Linked DNA regions of Homo sapiens: all the other regions are linked to region 1. Evidence: promoter capture Hi-C in 16 types of primary human blood cells and fetal thymus (Javierre and others, 2016). All regions are on one chromosome and are shown on one strand. Each heading gives the region's core, a stretch centred on a gene start or on the middle of the fragment in contact. The rest is flanking DNA. Distances are from core to core; before and after follow the strand shown. Region 1 holds the start of RPL24 (ribosomal protein L24). Region 2 has its middle 220 kb from the start of ZPLD1. Region 3 overlaps ABI3BP (ABI family member 3 binding protein). Region 4 overlaps TFG (trafficking from ER to golgi regulator).

Region 1 (5,256 bases), core at 2,129-4,628:
GAATCTAACACTTTCTGTAGATTACTGGAAATCTATACTACAGTGTTTATGAGAAAAAGATCTTGCAGTGCACCTTTAAGTCAAGAACAAAGTATATTCGAATAGTTGTTTATTAAGGCACTGACATGCAAAATTACCTTAAAAACTTTTAACAAAAATAAGGCACATTGGTGGTTTACAGACATGCTAATTTTAAACTTTTTAGAAAGATGCAATCTTATTGTTTCTACAGTAAAATGGCAGTTTTTCTACAGTAAATGGCAGTATTTACCTGTTTAATATTCTTGTCTCAAACGAACACTTAAACATTTTTTTTATTGTGGTAAAAATGTAAAGTTGACAATTTTAACCTTTTGGTTTTTCTTTTCTTTTTTTTTTTTTTTTTTAAAGACTCAGCCTTGCTCTGTTGCCCAGGCTGGAGTGCAGTGGCATGATCTTGGCTCACTGCAACCTCCGCCTCCACCTCCGGGGTTCAAGCAATTCTGCCTCAGCCTCCTGAGTAGCTGGGATCACAAGTAACCGCCACCACGCCCGGCTAATTTTTGTATTTTTAGTAGAAACCGGGTTCCACCATGTTGCCCAGGCTGGTCTCTAACGCCTGAGCTCAGGCAATCTGTCCGCCTTGGCCTCCCCAAGTGGTAGAATTACAGGCGTGAGCCACCATCCCCAGCCTGTTTTCTATTTTTTTAAGTAGAAACTGGGGTCTTCACTACTATGTTGCCAGGTTGGTTTCAAACTCCTGGGCTCAAGCTCAAGGGATCCTCTTGCCTGGGCCTCCCAAAGTGCTGGAATTACAGGCGTGAGGCACTGCACTAGGCCCATTTTAACTTTTTTTTTTTTTTTTAAATGGAGCCTCACCCTGTCACCCAGGGTGGAGTGCAGTGGCACAATCCCAGCTCACTGCAACCCCCCACTTCCTGGGTTCAAGCTATTCTCCTGCCTCAGCCTCCCAAGTAGCTGGGACTACAGGCACCTGCCACCATGTCCGGCTAATTTTTTTTTGTATTTTTAGTAGAGACAGGGTTTCACTCTGTGGGCCAGGCTGTTCTTGAACTCCTGACCTGGTGATCCACTCGTTTTGGCCTCCCAAAGTGCTGGGATTACAGGCATGTAAGCCACCATGCCCAGCCTCATTTTAACTTTTTAAATTATAATTTAGCTATGCAGGATGGCTCGCGCCTGTAATGCCAGTACTTTGGGTGGCCAAGGCAGGAGGATTACTTGAGCCCAAGAATCTGAGACGAAATTGGGCAACATCGCAAAGATTTCTGTCTCCTCAAAATATATTTAAAAAATAGCTGGGCCATGGTGGCATGTGCCTGTGGACCACGGGGTAGGCGGAGGTGGGAGGATCACTTGAGCCCATAAGGTTGAGGTGGAGTGAGCTGTGATCCTGCCACTGCTCTCCAGCCTGAGCAACAGAGGACCTGTCTCCCCAAAAAAAAAAAAAAAAAAAAAAAAAAAAAAAAAAAAAGGTATAGTGGCCTTATGTACATTCATAGCGCTGTGTAGCTATCACCATTATCCATCTAAATAACTTTTTTTTTTTTTAAAGGTCTCCTATGTTGCCTCAAACAATCCTCCCACCTTGGCCTCCGGAGGAGCTAGAGTACAGCCGCTGCCACCAAGCCCGGATTTGCTATGACACTGATATACAAGTTATAGAGTCCCTGCTTTCAACTGTTTTAGGGTATAACTTAGAAGTGGAACTGCTGGGATAATTTTTATGTTTACCCTTTTGAGAAAACACCAAATGATTTTTCACAGCTGTTGCATATTTAGCAATGCACAAAGGTTCCAATTTCTCCCCATCCTCACCAACACCTGTAATTCCTGTTTTTTTTTTTCCTGAATAGTCACCCTAATAGGTGTGTCATATCCACTTTTAAGTTTCTCCTTCCTCTGAACTTTCAACATATTTTATGTCTGATGGCATTTATTTCTCACAATACCTAGAAAAGTCCTTCATCCAGAAGGTGTTCAGTAAGTATTCCCAAGCCTCCTGAATACTAGTCCTACCATGGCACTCAAACTTTTTCTCATGTATAACCCAGCTAAAAGGACACTTAACAAGGACCAGAAAAACCACTGTTTTTCTAGTGAATGAACTAGTGTATGGTGGACTGGTTCATGGTCCACTGGCTATGTTAGGACTAATCCTGTAAATATTGCAATCAAAACCAAATTATGGTAACTTCTCAATTTCCTCCCACTGGAAAACTAAGCCCTTCCACCCTGCCCTATAACGCAAAGGTGCTTAACGTAATTTATCTGACTTTAAAATTTCAACTCGGTATTGCTACTAGCCTAAAATATATAGAGACAGTTTATAATATCTTTTTCATTTTGCTGACGCTTTACAGTTTAAGAGCTCTTTCGCATACAGTCTGATTTAATTTTACAGAGCAGAAAACCAACGTTCAGAGAGCTTTGACAACTTAAGAGATAGCCCCCAACATCAAGGCGTATTCCACTTACCGACTGTCCCTTTTTGTGCTTCCTTCTGTAGAGGACAGTCCAGTTTATCTGCCGAGGATTCCTCTTGGAAAGGAAAGCCGACTCGCATTTCGCATTAAGAAACTGGAAAACCTAGAGTGACAAATGCAAAGGAATTACTATTTAACTATACAAAGTACAAGAGGCTGAGTAAGCTTGGAATCCTTAGAAGATCAATATGCTAGTTCTGGCTTATCATTTTACAAAACTGAGGCCCACAAGGACCAAAAGGCTGTCACATAACTGGCAGGTAACTGTGTCACACTATGAAGGTCCTTGCGTTTAGTCTTTTCTCGAGAGCAGGAAATCTAGGCTCATAGCAAAGGACAGGGTGGTGCGTCCTTCTGGGAAGCATTCTGCTCTTGTCCGTCCCAGGATTCCAAAGGGTACCTCCGTACCTCAGTTATTTCCCTTACACCGGGACATCAGTTACATAAACCCCTCCTGATGTCCGACCTGGCTCACAATAAATAATCAACACTGGTTCACTTAGAGGTTTCTGGTCCTAACGACCAGTCCACAGAGCGTCCACGAAGACTTCCAGAGGCCAGTGGTGATGTGGGGAATAAACCCGCCTAAACCGAATTAAACCAGCCTTTCCTCCTCGGAGTACAAGAAGGTAGGTGAAGCCGACGCGGCTTTTTACCTTCCCGTCGGTCCTGGCGTAGCGCCTCCCGTGTCCGGGGTAGATCTTGTACCCGCTAAAACTGCACAGCTCGACCCTGCAACAAAAAGTGAAAGTCCATCAGGGAGGGTGTCTACAGCCATGCCAGGGACGACAGAGAGGAGTTCTGCCCGAGGATGTAAGCGGATTGGGAACCACGGGTCGTGCTTACTTCATGGCGACAGCTCCACGGAAAGACAAAAGATGGCGAAAAGAAAGAGAGAATCATGGGAAGAGACCTTATAAGGTCGCTGCGGGGATGGGGGCCGGAAATCTCCTCCCCAATATCCTTCGATGCTCCTGGCCCTCCTTGATGACGTAATCATCGCGAGGCGAAAGATCTCGTTTTCCCTGACAGCTGACTTCCTCTGGCGCAATTCATCCAGAGGCGCTGGAGGGTTCTCGGGCCCAGAGGGCCTGCCAAAAAGGCAGTCAGACAGTTGGTTTATGAGTCATTCTGTCTCTGTCTCTCCTCTCTTTTTTTTTTTTGAGACGGAGTTTCGCTCTTGTTGCCCAGGCTGGAGTGCAGTGGCGCAATCTCGGCTCACCGTAACCTCCGCCTCCCAGGTTCAAGCGATTCTCCTGCCTCAGCCTCCCTAGTAGCTGGGATTACAGGCATGTGCCACCACGTCCGGCTAATTTTGTATTTTTCGTAGAGACGGGGTTTCTCCATGTTGGTCAGGCTGGTCTCGAACTCCTGACCTCAGGTGGTCCGCCCTCCTCGGCCTCCCAAAGTGTTGGGATTATAGGCGGGAGCCACTGCGCCCGGCCCATTCTGCCTCTCTTACTGCCAAGTATCCTAGAGCCATCTTCCGGCTGCAGGGAATGTGAACTGAAGAGAAAGGTGTCCTCTCTTCTCATAAAGAGACCCAAAGACGAATGCCCCGCAGGTAAAACCAGTCACATTTTGCCTTCCCTGTTGGCCCATTTCCTCAACCAAACAAATTAATAGTTTCACCATTTATAAGAAAGTAATGACAACCGAACCGTTTCTCAGGCTGTGCGAATCGAACAGTGCGCGTTGGCGCTTTGCATTAATTATAATTAACATTCTTTGAGCGCTTTCTCTGTGCCGGGAATTATGCCAAAGGCTTTTTAAACATGAGCTCATTCAGTTTCCAAAATTCCTATTAAGTACCTGCCTAAGAACTACAATTCGGAGTTGCTGCCTAGTGAAGTTGAGGGGGTCGGTGGAGCCCCGCTGGGAGGCCAAGGGCTCAATCTGTTGAGCCCTTCTATGATGCTACATATTTCATCGTATGACAAGGAGTGGCCAGAGGCAATTCTTGAATTCTGTGGGAGGTTGCAGTATATGACTAGGAAACAAATGTAATGACTGAGTTCTGCTTTCTATGTATGCAACTCACCCTAAAAACGTTTTGTAAGGTAGCTGGTTGAAGATATTTGGAATGTCTAACAAGTTGGCTGACTAATGTCATGAAAACTGTACAATTGTGTTGGAGCCAGTCTTTTTTTTTTTTTTTTTTCCTTGAGACGGAGTTTCGCTCTTTCATTCAGGCTGGAGTGAAGTGGCGCGGTCTCGGCTCACTGCAACCTCCGCCCTCTGGGTTCAAACGATTGATTCTCCTGCCTCAGCCTCCCGAGTAGCTGGGATTACAGGCGCCTGCCACCACGCTCGGCTAATTTTTGTATTTTTAGTAGAGATGGGGTTTCACCATGTTGTCCAGGCTGGTCCCAAACTCTTGACCTCAGGTGATCCACTCGTTCTCCCAAAGTGCTAGGATTACAGGCGTGAGCCACCGCGCCGGGCCTGGAACCAGTCTTAAGAATGATGTTAGGTGGCCAGTCATGGCGGCTCATGCCTGTAATTACGGCACTTTGGGAGGCCGAGGTGGGCGGATCACCTGAGGTTAGGAGTTCCAGCCCAGCCTGGTCAAAATGGTGAAACCCCTTCTCTACTAAAAATACAAAAATTAGCTGGGCGTGGTGGCGCACGCCTGTAATCCCAGCTCCTCGGGAGGCTGCGGGAGGAGAATCGCTTGAACCCGGGAGGCAGAGGTTGCATTTAGCCAAGATCGCGCCACTACACTCCAGCCTGGGCAAGAAGAGCAAAACTCCATATCAAAAAAAAAAAA
Region 2 (5,100 bases), core at 1,093-3,592, 530 kb after region 1:
ATAGTGTTGGAAGTTCTGGCCAGGGCAATTAGGCAGGAGAAGGAAATACAGGGTATTCAATTAGGAAAAGAGGAAGTCAAATTGTCCCTGTTTGCAGATGACATGATTGTATATCTAGAAAACCCCATCATCTCAGCCCAAAATCTCCTTAAGCTGATAAGCAACTTCAGCAAAGTCTCAGGATACAAAATCAATGTACAAAAATCACAAGCATTCTTATACACAAACAACAGACAAACAGAGAGCCAAATCATGAGTGAACTCCCATTCACAATTGCTTCAAAGAGAATAAAATACCTAGGAATCCAACTTACAAGGGATGTGAAGGACCTCTTCAAGGAGAACTACAAACCACTGCTCAAGGAAATAAAAGAGGATGCAAACAAATGGAAGAACATTCCATGCTCATGGGTAGGAAGAATCAATATCATGAAAATGGCCATACTGCCCAAGGTAATTTACAGATTCAATGCCATCCCCATCAAGCTACCGATGCCTTTCTTCACAGAATTGGAAAAAACTACTTTAAAGTTCATATGGAACCAAAAAAGAGCCTGCATCACCAAGTCAATCCTAAGCCAAAAGAACAAAGCTGGAGGCATCACACTACCTGACTTCAAACTATACTACAAGGCTACAGTAACCAAAACAGTATGGTACTGGTACCAAAACAGAGATATAGATCAATGGAACAGAACAGAGCCCTCAGAAATAATGCCGCATATCTACAACTATCTGATCTTTGACAAACCTGAGAAAAACAAGCAATGGGGAAAGGATTCCCTGTTTAATAAATGGTGCTGGGAAAACTGGCTAGCCATATGTAGAAAGCTGAAACTGGATCCCTTCCTTACACCTTATACAAAAATCAATTCAAGATGGATTAAAGACTTAAACGTTAGACCTAAAACCATAAAAACCCTAGAAGAAAACCTAGGCTTTACCATTCAGGACATAGGCATGGGCAAGGACTTCATGTCTAAAACACCAAAAGCAATGGCAACAAAAGCCAAAATTGACAAATGGGATCTAATTAAACTAAAGACCTTCTGCACAGCAAAAGAAACTACCATCAGAGTCAACAGGCAACCTACAAAATGGGAGAAAATTTTGCAACCTACTCATCTGACAAAGGGCTAATATCCAGAATCTACAATGAACTCAAACAAATTTACAAGAAAAAAACAAACAACCTCATCAAAAAGTGGGCGAAGGACATGAACAGACACTTCTCAAAAGAAGACATTTATGCAGCCAAAAAACACATGAAAAAATGCTCATCATCACTGGCCATCAGAGAAATGCAAATCAAAACCACAATGAGATACCATCTCACACCAGTTGGAATAGCAATCATTAAAAAGTCAGGAAACAACAGGTGCTGGAGAGGATGTGGAGAAATAGGAACACTTTTACACTGTTGGTGGGACTGTAAACTAGTTCAACCCTTGTGGAAGTCAGTGTGGCGATTCCTCAGGGATCTAGAACTGGAAGTACCATTTGACCCAGCCATCCCATTACTGGGTATATACCCAAAGGACTATAAATCATGCTGCTATAAAGACACATGCACACGTATGTTTGTTGTGGCATTGTTCACAATAGCAAAGGCTTGGAACCAACCCAAATGTCCAACAATGATAGACTGGATGAAGAAGATGTGGCACATATACACCATGGAATACTATGCAGCCATAAAAAAGGATGAGTTCATGTCCTTTGTAGGGACATGGATGAAATTGGAAGTCATCATTCTCAGTAAACTATTGCAAGAACAAAAAACCAAACACTGCATATTCTCACTCATGGGTGGGAACTGAACAATGAAATCACATGGACACAGGAAGGGGAATATCACACTCTGGGGACTGTTGTGGGGTGGGGGGGAGGGGGGAGGGATAGTATTGGGAGATATACCTAATGCTGGATGACGAGTTGGTGGGAGCAGCGCACCAGCATGGCACATGTATACATATGTAACTAACCTGCACAATGTGCACATGTACCCTAAAACTTTAATAAAAAAAAAAAGATCTTGTTTTTGTAAAATCAGTTACATCAATGACATTTGGTAGCACTCTGTGCACTTCTTTTTCACCTGCTTTGCTGTATTTTCATCTGCTTTGTCTTTGAACAATGGAGTGCCAAAATTTCATGTGATTTGCTCTCTCTACAACTTACTCTGGAAATTATTATTCTTTCTTATTATAGTCAAAGCTGTTACTCCATCAACAAGTAGTTTAAAATTTTTATACATACATTAGAGAAATAATTTATAAGTAGAAAAGATCATTGAATATACTTTTTGTTATTCTCAATAAAGTTAGTGTTTTATATATATTTATTTATATTTATATATATATAAAATCATTGGAAAAAGTCTAGAATACTAGAATATATCATAAGCTGAAAAACAGATATACTTTTATCCAATTGTATAACAAACTTCCCACACCAGGTAATATTTATTTCTTTAAATCCTCAAGGTTTTTGTGTCTTCCAATAGTATTTTCTAACAAAAGAATGCATTATAATTTGTACCTGTTTTATTTCCCAGGTGTTTTATTTTCCAGATGCATTTACTGTAGAAAGAACAATGTTTCCCAATGGTATATAGTTTTTCTTTAATCCTTAGGTAGGAGATTAAATATTTATTACATATTTAATGAAATATTGTGAAGTCCTGGGTTAGTTATTGCATGATACTTTGAACCACTATTAAAAAAACCTGTTGATATTTGTCTTCATAATTCTGTATGGTGATTTATGCCTTAGTAATTTTGATGGCTTTAAAATGATCATTAATATTTTAAAGTACAAAATCTACTTAGAGAAAGACTAATCTTTAAAGATAGTGGATATAAACTATATTTCATAGAGTCTTCTTGATAATTTTGAATCATTTTATGCAATTAATGTCAGGGTAAATGGCCGTTGTTTTTACCACATCATATGGCTGACAAAGAACTTATTGAAATACATCTATAAAGTATAACATTATCTTGTTTCCTTACATTGTTTGAGGCAACCCATTTAAAAATTTATGTATAACTTTATTATGAAATTTTATACACATAGACAAAAATAGAACATAATGAACCTGATGTGCTTATCTTCCAGCTTCAATAATTATCACTGTATGGCATATCTTATTTCATCTATGCCTCCCTACTTACCTATACTTCAGATTATTTTAAATCAATTTCTAGACAACATATAATTTTATCTATATGGTTCAGTGCATATCTTTAAAAATGATTGTAATACTGACTACATACAAAATTAACAATAAATTTCCAATATTATTAAATATTTAATGTTCAATTTTTTTCTCATTGTTTATAATTTTATTTATATTTTTGAATATAGAAGCAATGGGCTCAAGATACATTTTGAGGATAGATTCTACACTAGTTTCTGTTTGATTGGTTTAATGGTGGAGAAAAGAGAGAGGAATTTGAAGGTGAAACAATTTTCTAGGGGGGTCGTATACTTAAATGAGGACGACTGTAGAGGTAGATTTGGGTGAGAAGATAAAGCATTCAGCTGTGGAAATATCAAGACGGAAACAACATGTTAACATTTGGATGAATAAGCCTGTAACTCAAAAAAGGGGTTGTGGTTTAGAGACATAGATTTGGAAATATATATATCATAGATAATATTTATTTTTTTTACTTCTTTGCCAGCTTCTTTTTTCTTTCTTTTTAAAATTATACTTTAAATTCTGGGATACATGTGCAGAACATGTAGGTTTGTTACATAGGTATACATGGGCCATGGTGGTTTGCCGCACCCATCAACTTGTCATCTAAGTTTTAAGCCCTGTCTGCATTAGGTATTTGTCCTAATGCTCTCCCTCCCCTTGCCCCCCAACCCCCGACAGGCCTCAGTGAATGATGTTCCCCTTCCTGTGTCCATGTGTTCTCATTGTTCAACTCCCACTTATGAATGAGAACATACAGTGTTTGTTTTTCTGTTTCTGTGCTGTTAGTTTGCTGAGAATGATGGTTTCCAGCTTCATCCATGTCCCTGCAAAGGACATGAAGTCATTCTTTTTTATGGCTGCATAGTATTCCATGGTGTATATGTGCCACATTTTCTTAATCCAGTCTATCGTTGATGGGCATTTGGGTTCGTTCAAAGTCTTTGCTATTGTGAATAGTGCTGCAATAAACATATGTATGCATGTGTCTTTATAGCAGAATGATTTATAATCCTTTGGGTATATACCCAGTAATGGTATTGCTGGGTCAAATGGTATTTCTGGTTCTAGATCCTTGAGGAATCATCACACTGTCTTCCATAATGGTTGAACTAATTTACACTCCCACCAACAGTGTAAAATCGTTCCTATTTCTCCACATCCTCTCCAGCATTTGTTGTTTCCTGACTTGTTAATAATCTCCATTCTAACTGGCGTGAGAAGGTATCTCATTGTGGTTTTGATTTGCATTTCTCTAATAACCAGTGATAATGAGTTTTTTTTCATGTTTGTTGGCTGCATAAATGTCTTCTTTTGAAAAGCGTCTGTTCATATCCTTTGCCCACTTTTTGATGAGATTGTTTGTTTTTTTCTTGTAAATTTGTTTAAGTTCCTTGAAGATTCTGGATGTTAGCCCTTTGTCAGATGGATAGATTGCAAAAATTTTCTCCCATTCTGTAGGTTGCCTGTTGACTCTGATGGTAGTTTCTTTTGCTGTGCAGAAGCTCTTTAGTTTAATTAGATCCCATTTGTCAATTTTGACATTTGTTGCCATTGCTTTTGGTGTTTTAGTCATGAAGTCTGTGGCTATGCCTATGTCCTGAATGGTATTGCCTAGGTTTTCTTCTAGGGTTTTTATGGTTTTAGGTTTTATGTTTAAGTCTTTAATGAATCTTGAGTTAATTTTTGTATAAGGTGTAAGGAGGGGATCCAGTTTCAGTTTTCTGCATATGACTAGCCAATTTTCCCAGCACCATTTATTAAATAGGGAATCCTTTCCCCGTTGCTTGTTTTGTCAGGTTTGTCAAAGATCAGGTGGTTGTAGATGTGTGGTGTTATTTCTGAGGCCTCTGTTCTGTTCCATTTATCTATATATCTGTTTCGATACAAGTAGA
Region 3 (4,866 bases), core at 2,112-4,611, 790 kb before region 1:
AGTTTTCAGCTTTTGGATTCTTGGACTTAATGACAGTGGTTTGCCAGGGGCTCTTGGGTCTTCAGCCACAGACTGAAAGCTGCATTGTCAGCTTCCCTACTTTTGAGGTTTTGGGACGCGGACTGGCTTCCTTGTTCCTCAGCTTGCAGACGGCCTGTTATGAAACCTCAACTTGTGATTCTGTGAGTCAATACTCCTTAACAAACTCCCCTTCATGTATATACATCTCTCCTATTAATCCTGTCCCTCTAGGAAACCCTAATACAAATGGTTAAAGGGGCAAGAGGAAAATCTAAATAAAAATGTCAAAGAAAGAAAGAGTTTAAGAATAGGTTAAGAAGGATAAGGACTGAGAAAACTCTACTGGGTTTAGTAACTAATTGGTCATTAGTGACCACCAAGAGACATTTCAGTGGAACAGTGGAAAAGGGATGGCAACTAGTGAGAAGGGATGAGGACTGTGCAGATGGTGCAGAATTCAGAATGTGGGAGCCATAACTCTGAAAAGTTTGGAAATTAAAAGAGACTGAAAAGTAGCTTAGAATACATAACAGGATCAACAGAAGGCTTTGTTTTCAGGGAGAGAAACTTTGAGCATGCTTGCCAGCAGGAGGCAGGGCACCACTGCCTGTGAAAGGGCAAATGGAAGAGAGAGGGGATCACTGGAGAAGCAAAGGCTTAGACGACATGGGAAAGATGGGATCATGAGCACTGTCTGAAGTCAGAATTGTGTTTCTTGGAAAGAAGAGAAGAGAGGTAAAGATAAATTCAGGATGAGGAAAGAGTGAGTTGATAAAGGATAGTCTAGATTTCCTCAGTACTGTGGAAGGTAGAATAGATTGGGGGAAGAAAATAGCAGGGAATGTAGCCAGGATGCTGTTGCCAGAATCCAGGGTAAGGTGAGGCATGCTTGGATTGGGAACATTAGTGTGAAATGGACAAGGAGAAGACACAGATGCAGATATGGGTACATCTCAAAAGAAAAACGAATGTATCTTCGGGCCTTCATAAACGATAGTAGGTGAAAAATAGAAAATAAATGAAGTTTTAAATTAGAGCCAATGGGACAATGATACTACTTTAGAAAGCAATACAGAGACAAGTGAGGTGATATTTCAAGAGAAAAAGTCTGAGTTTAATCTTGTCATGTTGAGTTTGAGGTAATGGTAACACATAAAAGTGAGAATGTTGATATCTCACTGGTTATTTCATTCAGCATGTATTTACTTGGGGCCTCCTATGTTCCTGATGCTCTTCGGGGGACCAGGAAGTAACGGTGGGCAAGATACTCCCTGTCTTCACCGAGCTTAAAACTTACACGGCAAGACAGACAGGTAACAAGGCACTGGGGTCAATCAGGTGAGAATTCAGACACTGAAGATACTCGCTTCTTACAAACTTGGGGGCGGAAAAAAGGCAAGAGAGTCTGCTCTGGACTGGCCAAAAAGGAGAGCCCTCATTCTACGTTAAGAGTAAGTAAACACGGCCGGGCGCGGTGGCTCACGCCTGTAATCCCAGCACTTTGGGAGGCCAAGGAGGGCAGATCACGAGGTCAGGAGATCAAGAACATCCTGGCTAACACGGTGAAACCCCACCTGTACTAAAAATACAAAAAATTAGCTAGGCATGGTGGCCGGTGCCTGTAGTCCCAGCTACTCGGGAGGCTGAGGCAGGAGAATGGCGTGAACCCGGCAGGCGGAGCTTACAGTGAGCCGAGATCGCGCCTCTGCACTCCAGCCTGGGCGACAGAGCGGGATTCCGCTTCAAAAAAAAAAAAAAAAAAAAAAAAAAAAACAGAAAAAAAAAACACAAGATGAGAATGTTAGAAAATGCGAAAGTGATTTCTAAACTATTCATAAAGCTTTAATACGCTGGCAAAAGAGTGAGAACTAAAGCAATCTTGAAATCTTTAACAAGTTGGAAACATGAGAAAGAAAAAATAAGCTATTAATGGTGAAATAAATTTGGGTTAAAAACAGTTGACTCTTCATCAGGGCCAATTTGAAAGCTTTCTTTCAAATTGAGGCTCTATTGAAGACAAATGGGTACACTCTTCCATTCAAAGCCCATTAAGAATAAAAACTGTAAATGAAGCACATCTGCTCTCCGATGTGAACTTAGAAAGGAATCTTAAAGCATGGGAGACCCATAAAGACCCTATGCAAATAGGTACAGAAACATGCGCCACAAAGGATAAAGTGATATTTCATTGATACTTCCAAGCTAAAAACAAAACAAAAACAATGAGGGTTTTCTAACTGGAAACTTACTACCTAAGAGCTTTGATATACAAAGTCCATAGTCAAAATATAAAAACAAATTTCACTGTTATTTGCACAGGATAAATGAGGCTACACAAACCAATGTAAATCATTTTTTTAAAAAATCAGAGACTGTACAGAGGGAACCAAATATCAATGAATTAAAATGATACCAATTGGTGTTCCTGTAGCAAGCCAAGTGCATTCAGATTGCAATGGTTTTGTAAAAAGATACTCCTGAAGTAAAACTTTAGCTGTATTAATCTTCCAATTTTCAGAATATAACCATCATTTTTAGCTATTATTGCTTATGCTAACCTACTGGATTAGTCTAAATTATAAAAAAATTATGCATGAACATATGAGGGTAGATTTCTCCAAGTCTAGTCTGCTTCTAATTACACTAATTTGTAGTTCTGGCAGATTTATTTGGATGCTTCTAATATGTACAGTATTTCCAGGCTTTTAAATCGGGGCTATTATTTTTTTCCTCAAACATCACAAAGACTTTAAATGTCGGTTTATTAACTATGCTAATTAGGGAGAAAGGAAGCATGGGGAAATGAAATTTACTAGTACTCCAAATACTCCTTTTTAGTCATTACTGTTTAATTCTTCCCTTCAACTCATGTCCTAATGGTTCCCTACTTTGGTCAAGAATATCTTGCTTGTCATTATTGTATCTTTCAAAAGACTTTATTCAAAATGAAATTATCGATTTTGAATATTGTGATGTGATGTGCCTAATTCCATCTATTTGATAAGAGTAGAGCCAGGGTGCGTGTGCAAGGGGGTGAGGGTGAGGGTGAGATCCATGCATGGTCTGAATAGCTTGGGCCTTAGAGTCAACAGCCTGGGTTAGAATCCTAGCTCCATTAGGTCATCTGTCCTAACTTTCTCTATATTCATTATCTCCGGGTGCTGTCAAACCATGGCAACATCTATCAATTAGAATCGGTCATCAGATAGATTCTTTTACAGAAGTGTCAGTAGGACAAAGTGAAATTGGAGGAGAGGCTTGAGAGCGGGAGGAAGAAATTACTCCAAATTATGCTACACAAGTTTGCCAGGTTACTAAACCTATTGAAACAAGTAGTCCTACAGATTCATCAAGCAAGTTGAGTAACCCTTAAAATTGGGTTGCATTTTGCTGTAAGACTACAAAATTTCCTTTCTTCCTTCCTCTCTTCTCCCTTTCTCTCTCCATAACTTTATCAAGATAATTTTTAAAAAGAAAAAGAGCAATCCATAAGTGTTTATTTTCTCAGCATTAGTACCCCAGACCAATCCATTAGGAACCGGAATTATCACAAGGAGGCATGTTCTTTTGAGTCCATTTTCCAAACAAAATAAGTCATGGGATTAGTGGTGGGTGAAATAAAAAGTATTTCAGATTCTTTGAAGCATTTCAAAATTATTTTTCAAAAAATTGGGTTTTGGAAATATCTTCTACATGTTTTTCCAAGTATTCATCCCTTGAGAACCATGGGCATATGAAGGGAAATTTGATTTTTTTCTTGAGTCTAGATTTCCCAACGTCAGATGAAAGGTGATTTTGAGAACTTATAAACACTTTAAAAATTCCTTCATTTTAGTTTGATTTGGACAAATAAAAATAAATAAAACACTACAAAAAACATAAACATGGCCAAAAAGCACATTAAGAAGTATGCAATAGCCTTAGTGTAAGGGAAATACATATCAAAACTGTAATGAAAAACTACTACACTAGAATGGCTAAAATGAAAGATGCTGACAACACAAAATGCTGCTTTAGAATGTGGAGCAATCAGAGCTCTCCTACATTGCTTGTGGGAATGTAGATGGAAAAATTAGGCAAAAAATAATCAAATATACGTAATATACATCTTCCTATAACTCAGAAATTCCACTTATGTTTAAGAGAAATTAAAATGTCCACCAAAATTTTATGCGAAAATGTTTATACAGTCTGTATTCATATACATAAAAAAAAACAACATAATTCAGGTGCTCATTAGCAAGAGAATAAACTTTTGAATATTCACATAATAGACTATCACTCAGGAGTACAAAAAAGAATGAATTATTGATATCCGCAATGTCATGAATGAATCTCAATGCTCAGCGAAAGAAGACAGTCAGAAAACCCATACTATATGACTCCATTTATATGGAATTCTAGAGTAGGCAAAACTAATCTATGGTGATAGAAATCAAATCAATGGTTGTTTCTGGAGGAAAGTACTTTCTAGAGTGATAAAATTTTTCTGTTTCCTGATGGGTATTGGATACATGGTTATAGGCATTTGTCATAACTCAAACTGTACACTAATATTTATGCATTTTACTGTGTTTAAATTATACCTCAATAAATGTTTTTTATTCAAAAAGGAATAAGAAAACTTCTGAAATGTAAAAATCACTTTGAATGTATTTAAAATAGAAAACTTTAAAAATAAAATGCCTTGATTGAAGCTTGAAAATTTTGAATGCTTTTCTAGATGCAAGTTTCTGAGTTTTGAAGCTAATATAGTAAATATTTATAAGCAAACATCATTTTATAACCAACCTAGAAGTATGGTTCAGCATGTAGCACAGGGCCTAGTACATATCCATCCAATGC
Region 4 (5,421 bases), core at 2,131-4,630, 970 kb before region 1:
TGGAAGGTTTTGAACAGAATGATACTAGGTTTTACTTAACAGTGTTAACTCTGGTGTTCTGAGACTAGATTAAAAGTGGGCAAAGGTAAAAAGCAGGCAGACTGGTTAGGAGTCTTTTCCAGTCATTTAGGCAAGTGATGATGGTGGCTTGAATCAAGTTGATAGCAGTGAAGGTGCTGAAGTGGTTGGACCCCAGAGTTATTTTAAAGGCAGTGGCAACCATATTTTCTTGGCAGTTTGGATGTAAGGTTTGAGAGAGAGAGATCAACCAAGATTTTTTTGTCTTATACAACTCGAAGGAAGATAAAGAAGCCTCTAGGAGAGGCAGGTTTTAGGTGGAAGATCAGGAATTTATTTTTAGATATATTAAGAAAAATCTAAATGGTCATGTCAGATGAACAGTTAAATATGAGAAAAAATAATAGTAGACGTAAAATAAAAGCTTATTTTATTATCCCTACAGTAAAATAATGTTGCCTCCAGACCATTTTAACATAAATATGGTAACATGGGGATAATGAATCTTTTGGAGGCTAGAGTTTCTTAGCATCTAATAGTAGCTTTGCTCTCAACTTTTACGGTATGTTTTGTTGTTTAATTATCAAAACCACTTTTATCAGTCTTTCTCTAGAGTTGTATATATAGAACATCCTGGAGTCCACCATGAACGGACAGTTGGATCTAAGTGGGAAGCTAATCATCAAAGCTCAACTTGGGGAGGATATTCGGCGAATTCCTATTCATAATGAAGATATTACTTATGATGAATTAGTGCTAATGATGCAACGAGTTTTCAGAGGAAAACTTCTGAGTAATGATGAAGTAACAATAAAGTATAAAGATGAAGGTAAGAGTGTTTTTAAAGCTATTTTTTAAAGTCTTTTTAAAAAAAAAAAAAAAAAGACAGAGCCTCTGTTGCCCAGGCTGGAGTACAGTGGTGTGATCATAGCTCAGTGTCACCTCAAACTCCTGGGCTCAAGCAATCCTGCCTCGGCCTCCCAAAGTGCTGGGATTACAGGCATGAACTGCCATGCCTGACCTTAAAGTCTTAAGTATTGTATGTGTTATTTTGCCCATTTTTATTGGACTCTTTCCCATCCTCTCTTCACGGTAGTTGAGACCTCACTTTCTTGTATTGAATGTGATGTTCCTATAGTTACTATAATTCTCTCATCAGTTAAAATTAGCTAAGTGGGGCCGGGCGCAGCAGCTCATGCCTGTAATCCCAGCACTTTGGGAGACCGAGGTAGGCGGATCATTTGAGGTCAGGAGTTCAAGATCAGCCTGGCCAACATGGCGAAACCCTGTCTCTACTAAAAATACCAAAAATTAGCTGGGCGTGGTGGTGTGCGCCTGTAATCCCAACTACTCGGGAGGATGAGGCAGAGAATTACTTGAACCCGGGAGGTGGAGCTTACATTGAGCCAAGATCGTGCCACTGCACTCCAGCCTGGGTGACACAGCAAGACTCCGTCTCAAAAAAAAAAAAATAGCTAATTGGTTTATTAGAAGGGAATTTTAAGTGTTAGAACATTTTCACATACATTTTTTTTACAAGCATTATTTTCTCCTTTTGTCCATATAATTCTGGTTTCTTTTAGCTTAAAAAAATTTTTTTTCTATTCTTATTTCCCGAAATGAAAGGTTTTAGTATGTATTGAATGAAAAAGGATTTTATGGTCAACTAAGTAAGGGAAAGCTGGTTTAAACAAAGACAAAAGTGTTTCTTTATTGTAGGAGTTTTCAGATTATGTAATATGCTTATATACATTTTCAGAAGTTAGTAGTATGCAGTGTTCCCAGACTCATTTGTTGACAAAATTATCTTTATGGAAATAGGTTTTGAATGAAAAATGTTTCGGCAAACACACTGAGTAGAATTATAGTAGTAGACTGTATTTCCTATTCTTCAACCTGCCTTCTTTGTTAATATCTCTGCTGAAATTTTCTCTTTAGGTGGTTACCAGTGTTTTTTACTGTGGAACTTACTTGCAGTGTATTTAATCTTGACCTCACTGTTTAGCACTGCTACCCACACCATCCTTGTTTTTAAATACTTTTACCTCTTAACATCTCTGACACTGCTTAACCTAGTTTTCTTATCACTAACAGTTTTTTCTCTGTCTGTGTTAGGGTTGGGCTTAAAGTAATGCCAGCAGATATAATAGAAATCTTAAAATCTGAGTGGTTTAATAGTTGAGAAATCTTTCAGGGATCCAGGTTGAAAGAAGCTGTTACCTTCAACACATGGCTTATAAGCTCACCATAGGCATTGACATTGGCAAGCAGATGAGTGAAGACAGAGTATGAAGAATCATATGGGAGATTTTACTCACTAGGCCTGATGGTGTTGTATGTCATTTCTGCCCTTATGACATTGGTCAGTACCCAGTTACATGGCTTTGCTAAGATGCAAATGGGTTGGGAAGTATAGTCCCTGGCTGAGCAGCCACTTAGCACAACTTATACTGTGGAGGAGAAGTGTAAATCACTGGTGATCAGTTAAATTGACCATCTAGCTAAAGGTATAATTCTCCTTTGTTTTTGTGATGTGTAGTCTAAGAATACCCAAAACAAATTTTTGAGAGTTGCCCATGTTAAGAAACAATAAAGGATAGTACTTTTTTCCTGTTTTCTTATGCTTATCATACATTGATTTGCACCTCTGTGACTTTGAAATGTGTGTCTTAATTTGATCAGTGAATTTTTTTTTTTTTTGAGACAGGGTCTCACTCTCATCCAGGCTACAGTGCAGTGGCATGATTATAGCTCATCATAACCTTTAACTCCTGTCCCCAGGCAATACTGCCAACCCGGCCTCCCAAAGGCATAAGCCACCATGCCCAGCCTACAATTCAGATTTTTAACTTTTTTTTTTTTTTAGCAAAGTCCCAAGAGTACTTTTTTTTTTAAATTTTGTTTTAATTGACAAATAATAATTGTACATATTTATGGGGTACATAGTAATGTTTCATTACATATAATGGGATTAGATCAGGGTAATTCGCATATCCATCACCTCAAATATTTATTTCTTTGGGTTAGAAACATTCAATATTCTCCTTCTAGCTATTTGAAATTATATAATATGTTATTGTTAACTGTAGTCATCCTATAGTGCTATAGAACACTGGAACTACTTCTATCTAGTTGTACTTTTGTGTCTTTTAATAAATCTCTCCCTATCCCTCTTTTCCCCTACCCTTTGCAGCCTCTACTGTCATCTGTTCTGCTTTTTACTTGTATAAGATCAACTTTTTTTAGCTTCCACATATGAGAGAGAGCATGTGGTATCTTTTTAACTTAATGTCTTCCAGTTCCATCCATGTTGCTGTGAATGACAGGACTTCATTCTTTTTTATGGCTGAATTGTATTCCATTGTGTATATATACCATATTTTCTTTATCAGTTAATCTGTTGTTAGACACTTAGGTTGATTCCATATCTTGACTATTGTGAATAGTGCTGCAGTAAAATGTGAGTGCAGATTTCTCTTCAATATACTGGTTTCCTTTCCTTTAGTTAAATATTCAGTAGTGGCATCGCTGAATTGTGTGTTAGTTCGATTTATAGTTTTTTGAGGAACCTTCATACTGTTCTCCCTAGTGGCTGTACTGTTGACATTCCTACCAATAATGTGTAAGAGTTCCCTTTTCTCTTCATTCTTGCCAGCATTTGTTATTTATCTTTTTGATAATAACCATCCTAACTGGGGTGAACCTTGTTGTGGTCTTCATTTTCCTGATATGTGTGCATTTCCCTGATGATTTGTGATTTTGAGCATTTTTTCATATATTTATTGACCATTTCTATGTCTTTTTTTGAGAAATGTCTGTTCAGATCATTTGCCGATTTTAAAATCGGATTGATTGTTTTTTAGCTGTTGAGATGTTTGAGTTCCTTCTATATTCTGAATATTCATCCTCTGCCAGATGAGTAGTTGTATTTCCTCCCATTCTGTAAGTTCTCTTTTCACTCTTGATTGTTTCCTTTGCTGTGCAGAAAAGTTTTCCAGTTTGAGATAATCATATTTATTTTTGCTTTTATTGACTGCACTTTTGAGGTCTTATTCATGAAATCTTTTCCCGACCTATTAAAGAGGTTATCCTTTTCCTAATGAGTGGTCTTGTCAAAAGTCAGTTGGCTATAGATAACATGGATTATGTTCTTTTGTTCTATGTGTTCTATTGATCTATGTGTTTGTTCTCTTGGTCAATGGGTCTGTTTTTATGTCAGTTCTGTTGGTCTGTGGGTCCGTTTTTGTGCCAGTCCATGCTTATTACAGCTTTGTAGTATATTTTGAGGTCAGTAAGTGTGACACCTTCAGCTTTGTTCTTTGCTCAGTATTGCTTTGACTGTCTGGGGTTGTATGTAGTTCTGTACAAATTTTATGGTTTGTTTTTAAATTTTTATGAATAATTTTATTGGTAGTTTGATAGGGATTGAATTGAATCTGTAAATTGCTTTGAGTAATTTTGTCATTTTAACAATATTTGTTCTTATATAAGCATGGGATGTCATTACATATGTATGCTCTTTGGTTTCTTTCATCAGTGTTTTTTTTTTTTTTTGTAGAGGTTTTTCATCTTCTTGGTTAAACTGCTTCCTAGATATTTAAAAAAATTTTTGTAGCTGTGGTTAATGGGATTGCATTTTTTATTTTTTATTGTATGTGTATAGAAACACTACTTATTTTTGTGTACTTATTTTGTTTCTGGCAGCTTTATTGAATTCATTTATTGGTTCTAAGGGTTTTGGTAGAGTTTTTAGGTTTTTGTTTATATAAGATTATGTCATCTGCAAACAGGGACAGTTTGCTTCCTTCCCAATTTGGATACCTTTTATTTTTTTCTCTTGCATAATTGCTCTGGCTAGTACTTGCTTAACTGTCTTTTTTTTATTTTTTATTTTTTTGTCTTGAGACAGGGTCTTGCTCTGTCTCCCAAGCTGGAGCGCAGTGGTGTGATCATGGCTCATTGAAGCCTTGAACTCCTGGGCTCAAGCAGTCCTTGCAACTCAGCCTCCCGTGTAGCTGGGACTGCAGGCATGTGCCACTGCACTCAGCTTCTTATTCTTAATGTTTATCAAAATGGGGGTCTCACTGTGTTGCCCAGGCTGGTCCTGAACTCCTGGGCTCAAGCGATCCTCCTGCCTTGGCCTGCCAAAGTACTGAGATTACAGGCATGAGCCAGTGTGCCTGGCCTTTAACTGCCTTTTTTCCCACTTGAAGATGCTTTGCCTTTATCTCAAACTGACCTCATTGACTGGCTTTCTCTTAACTACTGTTTAGGGCAAAGGTCAGCAAACATTTTCTTTAATAGATCAGAGAGAATAAATATTGTAGCTTTGTGGGTCACATAAGGCCTCTGTCTCATCTTTTTTTTACAATGTAAAAACCATTTTTCATTCACAGACCTATA

What was found. Contacts are between HindIII fragments. The CHiCAGO score rates a contact against its expected background, and 5 or more counts as called.
Region 2: a fragment that was not itself captured here is called in contact with the fragment with the promoter of RPL24 in region 1 in 4 of 17 cell types (non-activated CD4 T cells, total CD4 T cells, total B cells and 1 more); the score reaches 7.6 in non-activated CD4 T cells.
Region 3: a contact is called between a fragment that was not itself captured here and the fragment with the promoter of RPL24 in region 1, in 1 of 17 cell types (endothelial precursors). The highest score is 5.6, in endothelial precursors.
Region 4: a contact is called between a fragment that was not itself captured here and the fragment with the promoter of RPL24 in region 1, in 3 of 17 cell types (neutrophils, naive CD8 T cells and fetal thymus). The highest score is 6.8, in neutrophils.

What each region holds. Positions count from the first base shown.
Region 1 is chr3:101,683,340-101,688,595 of GRCh38, forward strand. RPL24 (ribosomal protein L24) reads right to left here and starts at 3,379. Exons shown (of 6, transcript NM_000986.4): 1 at 3,333-3,379; 2 at 3,143-3,218; 3 at 2,479-2,589. The coding sequence starts at 3,337. It overlaps LOC124906262 (endogenous retrovirus group K member 5 Gag polyprotein), which reads left to right. Exons shown (of 3, transcript XM_047449415.1): 2 at 1,556-4,050. The coding sequence starts at 4,040. RefSeq lists enhancers at 2,776-2,965, 2,956-4,155, 3,126-3,615, 3,626-3,675, 4,586-5,139 and 2 more. The HindIII fragment of the contact is 5,611 bases long and covers 2,650-5,256 here.
Region 2 is chr3:102,215,701-102,220,800 of GRCh38, forward strand. No RefSeq gene overlaps it. Among named protein-coding and RNA genes, the nearest start is that of ZPLD1, 220 kb to the right of the region's middle. The HindIII fragment of the contact is 6,610 bases long and covers 1-5,100 here.
Region 3 is chr3:100,893,174-100,898,039 of GRCh38, forward strand. All of the region lies in intron 4 of ABI3BP (ABI family member 3 binding protein), which reads right to left. Among named protein-coding and RNA genes, the nearest start is that of ABI3BP, 98 kb to the right of the region's middle. The HindIII fragment of the contact is 2,710 bases long and covers 2,007-4,716 here.
Region 4 is chr3:100,713,023-100,718,443 of GRCh38, forward strand. TFG (trafficking from ER to golgi regulator) reads left to right here. Exons shown (of 8, transcript NM_006070.6): 2 at 621-847. The coding sequence starts at 664. Among named protein-coding and RNA genes, the nearest start is that of TFG, 6.2 kb to the left of the region's middle. The HindIII fragment of the contact is 5,880 bases long and covers 441-5,421 here.